5 separate regions of the Homo sapiens genome follow, and regions 1, 3, 4 and 5 are each linked to region 2. Evidence: promoter capture Hi-C in 16 types of primary human blood cells and fetal thymus (Javierre and others, 2016). All regions are on one chromosome and are shown on one strand. The core of a region is centred on a gene start or on the middle of the fragment in contact, and the rest is flanking DNA. Distances in the headings are between cores, read along the strand shown.

The links. The method cuts DNA at HindIII sites, captures the fragments that hold promoters and counts their contacts. A CHiCAGO score of 5 or more calls a contact.
Region 1: a fragment that was not itself captured here is called in contact with the fragment with the promoter of DNASE2B in region 2 in 1 of 17 cell types (neutrophils); the score reaches 5.0 in neutrophils.
Region 3: a fragment that was not itself captured here is called in contact with the fragment with the promoter of DNASE2B in region 2 in 2 of 17 cell types (M2 macrophages and M0 macrophages); the score reaches 5.2 in M2 macrophages.
Region 4: a fragment that was not itself captured here is called in contact with the fragment with the promoter of DNASE2B in region 2 in 1 of 17 cell types (neutrophils); the score reaches 6.5 in neutrophils.
Region 5: a fragment that was not itself captured here is called in contact with the fragment with the promoter of DNASE2B in region 2 in 1 of 17 cell types (endothelial precursors); the score reaches 6.9 in endothelial precursors.

The regions. Positions count from the first base shown.
Region 1 is chr1:84,714,508-84,717,207 of GRCh38, forward strand. No RefSeq gene overlaps it. Among named protein-coding and RNA genes, the nearest start is that of SSX2IP, 25 kb to the left of the region's middle. The HindIII fragment of the contact is 7,914 bases long and covers 1-2,700 here.
Region 2 is chr1:84,397,133-84,399,832 of GRCh38, forward strand. DNASE2B (deoxyribonuclease 2 beta) reads left to right here and starts at 1,352. Exons shown (of 6, transcript NM_021233.3): 1 at 1,352-1,557. The coding sequence starts at 1,433. The HindIII fragment of the contact is 1,924 bases long and covers 216-2,139 here.
Region 3 is chr1:84,694,614-84,697,313 of GRCh38, forward strand. No RefSeq gene overlaps it. Among named protein-coding and RNA genes, the nearest start is that of SSX2IP, 5.5 kb to the left of the region's middle. The HindIII fragment of the contact is 5,437 bases long and covers 1-2,700 here.
Region 4 is chr1:84,655,795-84,658,494 of GRCh38, forward strand. It overlaps SSX2IP (SSX family member 2 interacting protein), which reads right to left. Exons shown (of 14, transcript NM_001166293.2): 9 at 2,524-2,674; 10 at 554-690; 11 at 38-211. Among named protein-coding and RNA genes, the nearest start is that of LINC01555, 22 kb to the left of the region's middle. The HindIII fragment of the contact is 2,465 bases long and covers 70-2,534 here.
Region 5 is chr1:84,123,634-84,126,333 of GRCh38, forward strand. It overlaps a transcript of PRKACB not described here. Among named protein-coding and RNA genes, the nearest start is that of PRKACB, 19 kb to the right of the region's middle. The HindIII fragment of the contact is 2,181 bases long and covers 255-2,435 here.

The sequences.
Region 1 (2,700 bases), core at 137-2,636, 320 kb after region 2:
TCCATGTAAAAGATTCAGTGTAGTACTTAATTCCAAATAGTCCTTAAGAAATGTAGCTATTATTTTTATTATGCTTTAAAAGTTAAGTTCTAATAAAGAATTTGAGCATTTAAGAAGTAGAAGAAATCTTCAGAATTAAGAAAATGAAACCCAGAGAGGAAAAGCAACTTGCCTAAGGATACCTCGTAGTTAGCAGACAGCGATCAAACAGAGCATCACAGACGAGTAAGGAGAAAGGGCCACTTTCTGTCCTTACAGTAACCAGGAAAGGAAATTCAGAGCTCAGCGGGAAGGGACTCAGGGAGGCTGATACCATGTAGCCATTACGCAAAAGACTTGTGGTAGGAAGGGATGTACAGATGGCACCCAAAGACCTAGTTTTAAATCCTATTACTTATTGGATATGTGATTTGGAGCAAGTCATTTAATCGCCCTTTACCTCATTAATTTCTCTTAAAAATGGGCACGACAGCACACTCCCCAGGTTGTCATGAAGTTAAAATGAGAAAATATAAAATAGAGCATTTTGTAAACTGCCAAGGCTATGAAGTTAATTATTATTATGCCTCTCCTCCCAGTAGCCTACTTTCCATTCCCTCAAACCTTTAAAGGCATGGGGACATGCTTCTTTTTTCAGTTGGGTAGCAAATCTCCTCTTTTCACAGGATTTTTTCCTGAGTGACAGCCTTCTGATGCTCCTGTCTAGATAATGGTTCCAGCTATGTTCACCAGTTTCTGCTTCTGAGTACATCATTATTTCCCTTCAAAAGTTGACATCCAAATGCAAAATATGCTTTCTCCAGTAATATGGTTCTGGGTTTTCATTTCTCCAAGTTTTTTTTTTTTTGCTTGCAAATTCATTTATTATAATGGAACTCAGAGGCAATAAAAATAACTGTACTCTTCAAAAAGATAGAATAGATTTGAAGCTATATGCAACTGGGAATTATTTATAGCAAAGTCAGTTTAAGGATGTATTTAGCTAACTAGCATATCTATGTCTTACACAATAGAGTTTGGAGAGGTCTTAGAGAGCATTAGAGATGACAGAGTTTTCAGGCGAAATAAATGGATATAAGCCAGTGCTGCTGTCACCCAAAAGGCCAAAGCTAAAATAGTAATATTGCCTTTCACTGTTCACACACATGAGCTACAGTGCTGCCAGCTTGTGGATGGCTGATCTGATTAGTAAACCGCAACTACCTGCTCTGAATACAACATGGCACTCCCCCTCCTCCACCTGTTTGTTTTCAAGAGTTCACAGCTGTGAGTATATCAAATGCTGTCTAGCATTAGGCCCACCTTGTTTCTCCCAGGGGAGGGCCCACTTGTCTGTCTTCTCTATGGAGGCCTGAATGGAGCTAAGTCAGCCATTCAGTACATCTAATCAGATGAAAGTCTATTCCCTGAGGGATGACCTCAATCCCACAGTGAATGAAGAAGGGATCAGCATATCGTGGATCCCAGGGCACCAGGCATTGTCTGGTAAACAAAAAGAAATTAGAAACACAGGGGTAGGACACAAAAGTCAAGACAGATAAATGCTTTATGTATGCTAATGTTTATCTTTGTTTAAATAAAGGTTTTTGAGACAAGTGGTGAGTCCCTGGGAATAAATGTCTGGTTAGACTACAGTGTGGGATGGAAAGGGAGAATGCTTGTTCAACAGAAACTGTGAGATTTAGATTTCATAGGTGAAAGCTCTAGAATCATTAAAAATAAAACAGACTTCCTCCTACCACCAAACCTGTGTTATACAACTGGTCTTGATTTTAGGCAGGGCTCCATTATATTGCAGGCATATGTACAGCCGAAAGGATGAAGAAAACAGACAAAAAAAAAAAATGAGACTAAAGATTAGCAGTAACTACAGGAATCAACAGTGGCCAGGGGAGGATGCTAAATGATATATGAAGATCAACAAAACCCAGAATGTAGAAAATTTTGCAGGACAGATGACCTAGATTTTTCAATAAATAAAATGCAAGAAAAAAATTAAAAGAGGAAAGGAAACCTATAGAATAAAAGAGACACAAGAGACATATCAATCAAATGCAATATGTGGACCAAGTCTGGATCTTGACTTGAAAAAATAAGTGTTAAAAAATCCATGAGACAACTCAAAATGGATTAAAGATTTAGAAATGTAAGGCCTGAAACTATAAAACTCCTAGAAAAAAAAGACATAGGGAAAAACTACTTGATATTAGTCTGAGCAATGATTTTTTGGATATGATACCAAAAGTACAGGCAATAAAAACAGAAATAAGCAAGGGTAACTACATCAAACTAAAAACTTCTGCACAGCAAAAGAAACAATAAACAAAATGAAAAAGCAACCTACAGAATGGGATAAAATATTTGTAAACTCTATATCTGACAAGTGGTAAATATTGAAAACATAAGGAATGTATACAACTCAATAGCAAAAAAACAAATAGACCAATAAAAAAATGGGCAAAAGATGGTCAGGTGCGGTAGCTCACACCTGTAATCCCAGCACTTTGGGAGGCCGAGGTGGGCAGATCACGATGTCAGGAGATCAAGACCATCTTGGCTAACACGGTGAAACCCCGTCTCTACTAAAAAATACAAAAAATTCGCCAGACTTGGTGGCGGGTGCCTGTAGTCCCAGCTACTCAGGAGGCTGAGGCAGGAGAATGGCGTGAACCCGAGAGGCAGAGCTTACAGTGAGCCGAG
Region 2 (2,700 bases), core at 102-2,601:
ATGGATTCCCAGGCCGAGGTGGGTACACTCCAGCCTGGGCAACAAGAGCAAAACTTCATCTCAAAATAATAATAATAATAATACCAATGGAGGAATGGGTAAGAAAAATATTTCTTCATTTAACCTGCAGAAAGCTGTGAATCTACCAAATACAGCATAGTCTTGGCCTCAGGGCAGTGAGTTTCAAACTTTAGGGTACACCAGCATCACCAATAAGCTTATTAAAAATATAGATTCTTGAGCCCAACTGGAAGAATTCTGATGTAGCAGGTTTGGAATAAGTCCTAGAATTCTGCCTTTTTTGCAGGCACCACAGGTAATTGGGCAGGTGGTACAGAGTCCTCCTCCCAAAACTCTGTCTTAGGATAGAGACACAAGCCTTCCCCTTTTCTATGAATCCTGAGAATTGTGAACAGTTCTAGTGCAACCACAGAGGTAATCTGATTTACAAGGGTTCAGTTTGGTCTGGATCCTCTGATCTGGAACTATTATAGTTATCATTGTGATTATCAGAGAGACAGATTAGGGGCAGCATTATTTCCAGGCATGATGTAAACTGCTATTTATTATGATGGCAGCTTTAATAATTGATGCAAAAGTATGCATTAAAGAAATTATTTTCATATGTCTATCTACTCCTTCCCTGATTCACAAAGAAATTGGTCTCACCTTTTTATAGTTGTTATGGTAGTGGGCCATTTTATTTTGGTTTTCTACTTCAGATTCAGCTTCGAGAATGAGAAAGCATAGTTTGGGCAAAATAGATGTTTGTAACATTTTTTATTAACCTGAAGAGTGGGTGATCAATATGTTTACCTATTGCATAGCAGCCTGAAGCACCACATTGAGTGGCTAAAACCAGGAAGATGGAGAGAATATGTAAACATCTTTGGTAAAATACAGTTAAATTTACTGTTACTTTGAAGCAACCCTTTGAAGTATCCCTTAGCAACTGGTTCCTTAAGACAGAGATTATTAAGTGACAGATCCTAATTATTACTAAGACATAAGGTTTTATCATTTCTGTTTAATGTACGAACCACCTGCATTTGCTCTCATTCATTGAGTCAAACAGGAGAAGACATGAAATATATTTAACATCTACTTATTAAAATGAAGTCCCCCTGCCCAATGAATTTCATACAACAATGTTCACTCCAAAGAGTGAACTATCTTTCCCTATTTTTCTGCAGAACTTTTTGATGACTTTGCAAACCAGTCAACAATTCAGCACAAAGGCATCCAGAGTCACGCTGGCATGTTGTGACAGAATCGCACAATTACATGGGATCCATCCCACTCTGAAAATGCCCCGAACAGCGAACAGCACAGGTAAATCAAATCAAACGTCAGAGCCAGCACAGCCTGAGAGCGCCTTGAAACTCAGACTCCACAATCTATGGGGAAAGTGTCCTGCTGTGGCATGAAATAAATGAAACAGAAAATGATGGCAAGACTGCTAAGAACATCCTTTGCTTTGCTCTTCCTTGGCCTCTTTGGGGTGCTGGGGGCAGCAACAATTTCATGCAGAAATGAAGAAGGGAAAGCTGTGGACTGGTAGGTAAATGAAATGGAAGGACTGCTGCATGCAAACAGCCTCGGTACAGAGTTGGCCTGGCTCACTGCGAAGTTCCTAAGGGGAATGTCCATTCTCTTTCCTCCCTTTACAAATAAAGGAAGTTAAAGTGTGCAAATCGGCCAAACTCCCAGGCAGGGGTAGGCTTCTGAGTGACGGAGTTTCCCCCTGAAAAAGAGCTGAGCAGCCCCTCTTGGGCCTGATTCACTGTTCTCAGCGGGGCAAGGCTGGTAGCCACAGAAGTGGGATTGAGCTGACAGCTTCTGTGAGCTGGCAATTTCTTTTAATTACATCATGGCTTTTCCTAACAGAACACTTCCAACATCCTTTGAAAGACTGACAGAGTAAAGAAGGCAGATTATTTTTTTCTGAAAATGGAGCATGTGCTGCTCCTTATGAGAAAGAGAAGGGGGACCTGGTCACACACAGCACTGTTTGCCTAACATCGGTTTGTTTGGAAGCAGAGGCAGCTGTTGCCATGATTGGTACGTAGGCCACTGGCCTGTTGTACAGTGTCAAAGACATTAAATGCTGTGTTGCATTATAGTCATGGGTTCTCCTAAAGCTTTAACTACTTTTTCACCCTTTAATTGGGATATTTAGGTTTGCCATAATGGTTGGTGTCAAGCTTTTTGTGTAAACTTCAGGCTACAGAACACAGATATACTCAAGGCAGTAGTCAGTCTTTCCTCAGTTACTGAGCTCAACAGAGGTCTGTGTGGAGTTTTGAAAATATAAATATGAACGAAACATGGTTCCTACCCTCAAGGACCTCACAGTTATGTGGTAAGGGCATAGGTGGAACACTGGGGAACAGAGAGCCCAGAAAACTTCTCTAAGGATGTAATTTTTGAGCTAAGTTTTAAGAACAATTAAGAAGTAGCTGGAAAAAGAAGGGATGTGCAAGAGCATCTCAGGCCAATGAAGGAGCAATGAGGAGGTAGAGAGGCAAGAAGCAACATGGAAATTTGGGAGTTGCAAAGTAGTTTGGTATTGCTGGAACTTCAGGAGAATACAGGAAGATGACCGGAGGTGAGGTTAGAGAGGTGGGGACAGCCAAGGGGTCTGTGTGCTGAGCTACAAGGTTTGAACTTGACATTGAAAGGGAGCTATTGGAGGACTTC
Region 3 (2,700 bases), core at 108-2,607, 300 kb after region 2:
AAACTTAAACTGATAAGCAGCAGGGTTTCAGAAGATTAACTCCAATTTTGAAAGAAGCTCTACTGTGGGTAAAATGCTGTCAGACAACGTTGCATGATACAAAAATATTTTGTGAAAGGAAGAGTCACTCGATGTGGCAAACTTCATTGCATTATTTTAAGAAGTTGCCACAGCCACCCCAACCCTCCGCAGCTACCATCCTGATCAGTCAGCAGCCATCAACATCAAGGCAAGACCCTCCACTAGCAAAAAGATTATAACTTGCTGAAGGCTTCAAGATTTTTTTAGATTGTTAGCATTTTTTAGCAATGAAGTATTTTTCAATTAAAATATGTACCTTGTTTTTAAAGACATAATGCTATTGCATACTAATAGACAATAGTATAGTATAAAATAACTTTTATATGGACCGGGAAGCCAAAATACTATGTGACATCCTTTATTGTGATATTTGCTTCATTGCTGTGGTCTGGAACCGAACCTGCACTACCTCTAAGGTGTGCCTGTACAGAAAAGGCAACCCCAAGCCCAGATGTTACTGAGTGGCTACATTAGCCTACCTTGGCTCTGTATATCTCTACACTGCATATCATGTGAGACAGTAAATGGCCTATTGCTTAAGCCATTGTAGGCTTAAGCCTAAGAACATTTTTAGCCCAGGGCTAAAAGAAATTGGGCTTGATAGAACTTTACTATGGTAAGTGTATTAGGCCATTCTTGCATTGCTGTAAAGACTGGGTAGTTTATGAAGAAAAGCGGTTGAATTGACTCCCGGTTCTGCAGGCTGTGCAGGAAGCATGACACTGGCATCTGCTTCTAGGGAGGCCTCAGAAATCTCCAGTCATGGCAGTAGGTGAAGTGGGAGCAGGCACCTCATACGGCGAAAATAGAAGCAAGAAAGAAAGATAGCGAGGTGCCACACACTTTTAAGCAGCCAGATCTCATGAGGAGTCACTATTCTCATGGAGGACAGCCCCAAGGGGATGATATTAAACCATTCATGAGAAACCACCCCCATGATCCAATCACCTCCCACCAGGCCCCACCTCCAATACTGGGAATTACAATTCAACACAATATTTGGGCAGGGACACATATCTGAACTATATCAGAAAGGAAAGATAAGATATGAAAATTTTATTTTAAAAATGCTTAGTTTGCTTTCCACTTTTTTTTAGCAAAATTAAAGGGATGTGACTATGAAATGCTGCTGTTGTTGTTTTCCAAAACTTATCAAAACTTCCACCCTTGCTCCTCTGTAGTCTATTTATATCACAGTAGGCAGAGTAATTCCCCTAAAATGTGAGATCCTGTCACTTCTCTTCTTTGGCTCCCCTAACTCAATGTTAAAGCTAAAGTGCTAACCATGGCTGCAAGGCTCTTACAACCTCACCTTCACCACCTTACCTCTCTGACTCCATGTCCTACAATCTGTCAACCATTCAACTAAGCACTCAACCAACCACTAGCCACCTCACTGTTCCTCAACTTTGCCAAGCACATTCCTGCTTCAGGACCTCTGTTTGAATGTTCATCCCCTTAGCATCTTTGTTACTTACGTCCTCCCTTTAGAGTCTGCTCAAATGTCACCATCTTGGTAAGGGCCAACCTGACAACATTGTTTAAAATCGGAACTCCCTTCCAGCTTTCCAAATTTCTCGTACTTTGCTCCTATACAATCTTAAACCATGATAGATCCTTTACTTATTTTGATTGTTCATTTGGTCTGTCTCCCTCCACTAGAATATAAACTCAGCAGGAAAATAAATTTCCTCTACTTGGTTCATTAATGTATCCCCAGTGCCTGAAACAGTGCCTGATGCTTTGTGGTTGGTACTCAATAATTATTTGGTGACTAAATTTATAAATTCAAATAAATGTTTTTCATTTCAAAGTAAGCACTTTATTAGGCTGTATACATATTCCCATGTATACATATTCAAAAGGTATCACATCATTATTTACTGAATTTGTTGAAAATAATGCTTTCCTTTGAGCTGGAGTTGCAAGGTTAAAAAAAAAAGAAAGAAAATAATTATTTTTAAAAAATAAATCTGATTTCTGGGACAATCCAAAAGTCATGCAAGAGCCAAATCTGATGAACACATTCTGGAGCAAAATGTTAAAATCCCAAACCTGTTTTCCTGCTAAGTTACTGCATTTGAGTGGGTAAGGAAAGGTAAAAAAACATAATGTGTTTGATTTTTCTAGGAGGCAGTAAACCAACTCTGAGCATAATTTCAAAGAGGAGTTCTAAAAATGTACACCAATAACTAGTTGCAGAATAAGTACTATATGTTACCATTTTTGTTTTTAAAATAGAAATATTTATTTCTATATGTCTGTGTGTATGTGTGAATGAATTTCTTCCAACCTGTCTGAAGACTTTCATTTTTGCCCCCATTACATTAGAGGCATCTTTCAAAAGTGAAAATCAAATTCTGATTCCCCTTCCCTATTTAAGAACCTTCAATGGCCTCTCATTGTATTTAGTAACTTCCCACCTAGCCCTCCCTGGCATGATCTGGCCCCTGTTCCCCATCCTCCTTTCAGAACTCGCACTTTGGCCACAAAGTGCCAACCATAGAGGCAGCCTTTTCAGTTCCCTTGGCTCTTTGTACTTGCCATTCAGTCTGCCTAGAAGGCTCTTCCCATAAAGATTCAAGACTGATTCTTTTTTTTAATCATTCAGATCCCACC
Region 4 (2,700 bases), core at 52-2,551, 260 kb after region 2:
CCAGTATTTTCAAAAGCACTACAATTGTTTAAAATACCTCCAATCCCAGGCGAATAGCGGCTTCTGTAAAGCTTCGTCTCTCCCTCTCAAAATTCTTTTTCTGCTCTTTAAAAAGGGACCATTCTTCTTTGAGACGTTCCTTTTCTTCCAACAAATAACAGTCTCGTAATAGTGAAGTGGTATCATCATCATATGCAGTAGCGAGCTGCTGCTATTAAAATTTAAAACATAGTAAGTTCCTGAGGGACCTTGCGACACTCCAACGAGTTGAAATGAAAGCAAGGGAAGGCCAGTCAAACTTCAGGGCAGGAATAGAAATTATTAAGAATCAAAAAGTCAAATGAGAATTCTCATTTCCCGAAACCTACTACCCCAACTAGCAAAGTATGGACTATTTAAGGAGTGGTACACAATGTATCTGTTAGCAGGGAACACAGACTAGAAATCTGTCAAATACCAGGGCCTTATGAAATAAAGGAATACAAATCTGGTAAGGTTCAGCACAATTCTGGCTTTTCATGGAGAACAGCTTTAAAAGGTAATTCATATTCACCTGTAAAAGCTGTTGCTGAGTTTTAATCATTTCTTTACACTGCTGAATTTCTAACTCGAGTTTTTCAGTTTCTTGTTCATGGTCTTGTCGTGAGATTACATCTTCATCATTAAAACCTTCCAGGTGTACCTTTGAAACTAAGACAAAATCAGTAAGTTGACATAGGTCTTATAGCCACCACTTAGTTTACAGTGTTTTGCACATATCTTTAAAACAAGGGCTCTCAGAACTTTTATCTTTCTAGAATTTTATAGGTTTTCTAAAAAGTAGTTACGTCCTTTGACTTTTTAAAATTTCATAAGCTATAACAAAATTAAATTTATATTATTTTAACATTATAAAAAATGTTTAAGCAAAGCAACTACAGGAGTTCATGACGACAATTACACATTTGTGCAATTTTAAGACTAAATGATATGCTTACAAACAGAGCTCTATTGCCAACAATTTGTAATCCATATTTATTCATGATTATGTCCTAATTAAAAACAGACAAAATGGCCATATTCAGAGAAGAGAAAAATAAAATCATGTTTTTGTTGACACTGCTTCAAAGATCAATGAAGTGTCACAAATCTTGCTCTCAAATATTAAATTCAACAAATACGAAGTCCAAACATACTTGCTATTTGATAATAAACAGCATTGACTCAAATGAACAAAATCTCATGTAGATTCATTTTGGTGCTGTAATAATAATTTTGCTGATTGCTCTTTACTAATACTTAACACAATGGCACTGAGTTCATATTTTGACAATTTAAATTTTTCTTTAAATAGGCTTCATTTACTGAGCAGAAATCTTCATTTTCCTAGTTTAAAAGCATTCAAACTTTACCAAGCAGAAAATATTAAGAATATATTCATCAATGTAGAGCTATGTATAAGGATAATAGTTAAGTGAAAAAAGCACACTAAAGAAAAATATAGGTAATATTCAATTTTTAAAATTTAAAAAAAAGTAAGTATCTTTCAAATCCATAGAGGAAAGTATAGAAAAATATGCACCAAACTGTTAAGTGTTATATGTATGGAATAGAGACCAGGATATTCTACTTTATATACTTCCAAATTAATATTTTGCATTAAACATCTATTATTTTAAAAATAATTTTAAGTGAATTACTAGGAACATAGTAATCTGCAAGCATCTAGAAATAAGCAAAATGTTCCTATCTATACTACGATAAATATTTCTTGATTTTTGAGAGTCAGTAAAAGAGACTCAGTTTTCTCTTTTTGGGGGGGAACAGGTGGTGTTTGGTTACATGAATAAGATCTTTAGTGGTGATTTCTGAGATTTTGGTGCACCCATCACCCAAGCAGTGTACACTACACCCAATGTGTAGTCTTTTATCCCAACTCAGTTATCTTTATTTGATTGTATACTGCATCCAGAGCAGATGGATCCATGATGTCCTCTTTTCAAACATTCACTCTGAGACCAAAGTGTATTTTTCTCAGTGAGGTTCAAACCTCACATCTAAATGTATGTAAAATGTCGGCTGTGCACAGTGGCTCACACGTGTAATCCAGACACTCTGGGGAGGCCAAGGCAGGTGAATCACTTGAGGCCAGGAGTTCAAGATAAGCCTGGCCAACACAGCAAAACCCCATCTCTACTAAAAACACACCAAAAAATTAGCTGGCTATGATGTGCGCCTATAGTCCTAGCTGCTCAGCAGGCTGAGGCAGGAGAAATAACTTGAACCTGGGAGGCGGAGGTTACAGTGAGCCGAGATGGCACCACTACACTCTAGCCTGGGTGACCGAGCAAGGTTCTGTCTCAAAAAGTAAAATAAAATAAAATAAAATGAAAAAATAAATGTATGCAAAATCTTGCTTTCAAACCACCAAACTGAAGTATAGTACTTTAGCTCTGAGCCTATAATGCGGCTTTCTAAGTGACTAAAAATCAACACCTTACCAAATGTCACAACTCACTTTACATGCATAGAAGCAGTGGTTACCTTGGTTATCAAGCTTTTCTACATGACTTTTCAAAATTCTCCACTGTTTTCTGATGCTGTTTGTAAGCTGCTCTCTCACAGTTTCACAGGAAAGGTCCCACATACTCTCTCTGCTTAGTTCCCCGGCATCTTCTTCAACATCGGAAATAACCTACAAGCGGAGAGAGATGAAGAGGA
Region 5 (2,700 bases), core at 95-2,594, 270 kb before region 2:
AGAACGCTATAAAATGTTGCAATTTGTGACCTTTTGCAGCACACTTAACCTCTTTGTCACTCTGGAAAATGGGATAATAATATCCAATATAAAGGTAGATTGTTGTGAGGAATAAATGCTTTATTTACTTCATGTGAAACACTTAGAATGATATCTGACATATAATAAGTTAGCATTGTTATAGTCAATCTTACAACATTTAGAATATGTTACATAGTCTAATATAAATGGATTCCAAAATATTCTAGGCAGTAAGCTTTGTATTTTCTTAACATTTTTACACTCAATAATATTAAATTAAAAGAGAGAAATTGAAGACTGGAAATGCATAGCTCCCTAAAGTAGTGTAGAAATATATGTGATATATTGGGGCCTAATAAAGGGCCTTTATTTCTGTCTGTGACTCATCTTTTAGATACCTAAAGCTATCTCATAAAAAAGCTATGGTATCTTGAAGAAATTAATCAATTTAAAAACATTTATTGAGTGTATACTGTGTGATCATCAGTGTGTTAGATTCTGGTAAGAAATGATATGAGAAACTCACAAAAAGAAGTATAAACATGCAATTACTACAATGTGGTCAGTACAGTAACGTGGGTGTTAATATATTTTAGGAACTAGAAGAGAAGAAATAACATTGAACTACACTTTGATTAACAAGTAGGAATTAGCTAGGAGAAAGTCGTCTTACATAAATGGAACTTCTATGCATGATTTTTGACTACTGGTTTACCTGAAGTTTCTTACATTTTGTATTAGTATAACTTTACAGCCTTTCATATCCAGAATGCTTTTACACACATTATCTGAAGAGTGAGGTTTTCAGGTTATTATCTGAATGGTGAAAATTGGGTTTCTATCGTAGTAATTATGGGTGAAGGGGAAATATGTGTTTTTTAAAACTGGACATTTGTAATGTTGCTGTCTGAGCCTATAGCCCCCTACCTTCACCTCTTTATGCTGTGGAGTCAGGCAACTACACTAGCAGTCAAATGCCTGAGGTTCGCAGTTTGCCCTATCAGTGCTCTTGAGGGTTCTCATGTGAGTGAAAGGAGTGACTATCCCATGCCCTGCACCATTTCTGTGGTGGTAGTGGTGGTTGAGGGAAGAAGTTTCATCTTCACATTTCAGGTATTTAGAAAGCCCATCTGGAGATTTAGTTATGGGACTACCTGGCTATAGTCTTGGCTAGGGCGTTAGTAGATCAATGAAATTTTCTCATCAACACGAAGGGCTCTAAGTGTTAAAGGGAGACAGTGCCCACATCAACCATGACTAGGAGTTTCACATGTCCATATTTCATACATTTTAGTACTCTGGAAATAGAATCCCACTTTCCTCATCCCCATCACCTTATTACATTTAAGTCTTGTGTTAATTTTCTATTATTGCTATAACTAAATAGTGGCTTAAATAGTGGCTTAAAATAACACCCATTTATTATCTCACTGTTCTGTAGGTCAGAATTCTGGCAGGCTCTTATCTGGAGTTTCTGGGGAAGAATTTACTTCCAAGCTGATCCATACTTCTGGCAGAATCCAGTACCTTATGGTTATAGGACTAGGGTCTCTGTTTCTTGGTTGACTGTCATCTAGGGGGCTCCCTTAGCTCTTAGAGCCCTCTCTCTGGTGCTTCTACATAGGCTGTAATATCTCAGAGCCAGTAATGGTGTGCTGATCATTCTCACACGTGAAATTTCATGACATGTTGCCATGGCTCTCTTCTGCTCCTAGCTGGACAAGGTTCTCTGCTTTCAAGAGCAAATTTTTTTAGATCGGGCCCACCTAAGTAATCCAGAGGAATCTATTTAGTCACTAATTAGTAGCCTTAATTACATCCGCAGAGTCCAGTTAGGCATATATTGAAACATATCCACAGTTTCCAGGCAGTAGATGGAATTAATAGGGGGAGCATTCTGCTTATCAGAAATCCATCGGGAGTTTAGAAAGAAGAGGAAGTACAGAGAGCCTACGACCTTTGGTATGCATTTCAAGACTCAGTCACAATTAAGAGGAGGATCTACTTAATAGTTAAAGAAAATTTAAACCATCTTTCTTCCCTAATACAACCAGAAGTATAAACTAGTTGTTAACAGATATGCATATGATTAAAATAAAATTTAGAAGGCAGTGATGTGTTTCAGACTCATATTCAGCTATCTTTTTGAAATCTCCATTTGTATGTCTAGTAAGCATCTCAAATTTAATATGTCCAATAGAATTTTTTATTACAACACCCCTCCAGCCCCTTCCTTCAGAAATGGGATAGTTCCCTTGACCCCTTCGCGGGACTCACAAAGGGATTGACTTGTTTACTCAGCTCGCAGCTCTCATCCCCTCACGGGACGGGGAGCATGCAGGTGAGTGGGTACAGGGACTGGGACAAGTGCTTCTGGGCATCCGCAGGAGTAGAATCCTGTGCAGTCCAGTGGAAGCTTCCTGGGGGGTGGGGGGGAGGGGAGGGGAACCTGTGACCTCCGGAGTCCTAGAGGGCATGTGTTACAGTGTGCTCATTTAGCTTTGCCATCCACAGACAACTTAAGTGTTTAACAGATCAGTGGAGGGTCAGGGTGACAGCCTTTTGCACCCGCCCTCTTGGTACCCGAGTACTTGTCTGGCATCCAGGAAGAATAAGGTCATATGAATGAATTGAAGGGTGGTGAATGTGGAGGATTTTACTGAGCAGTAGAAGTGGCTC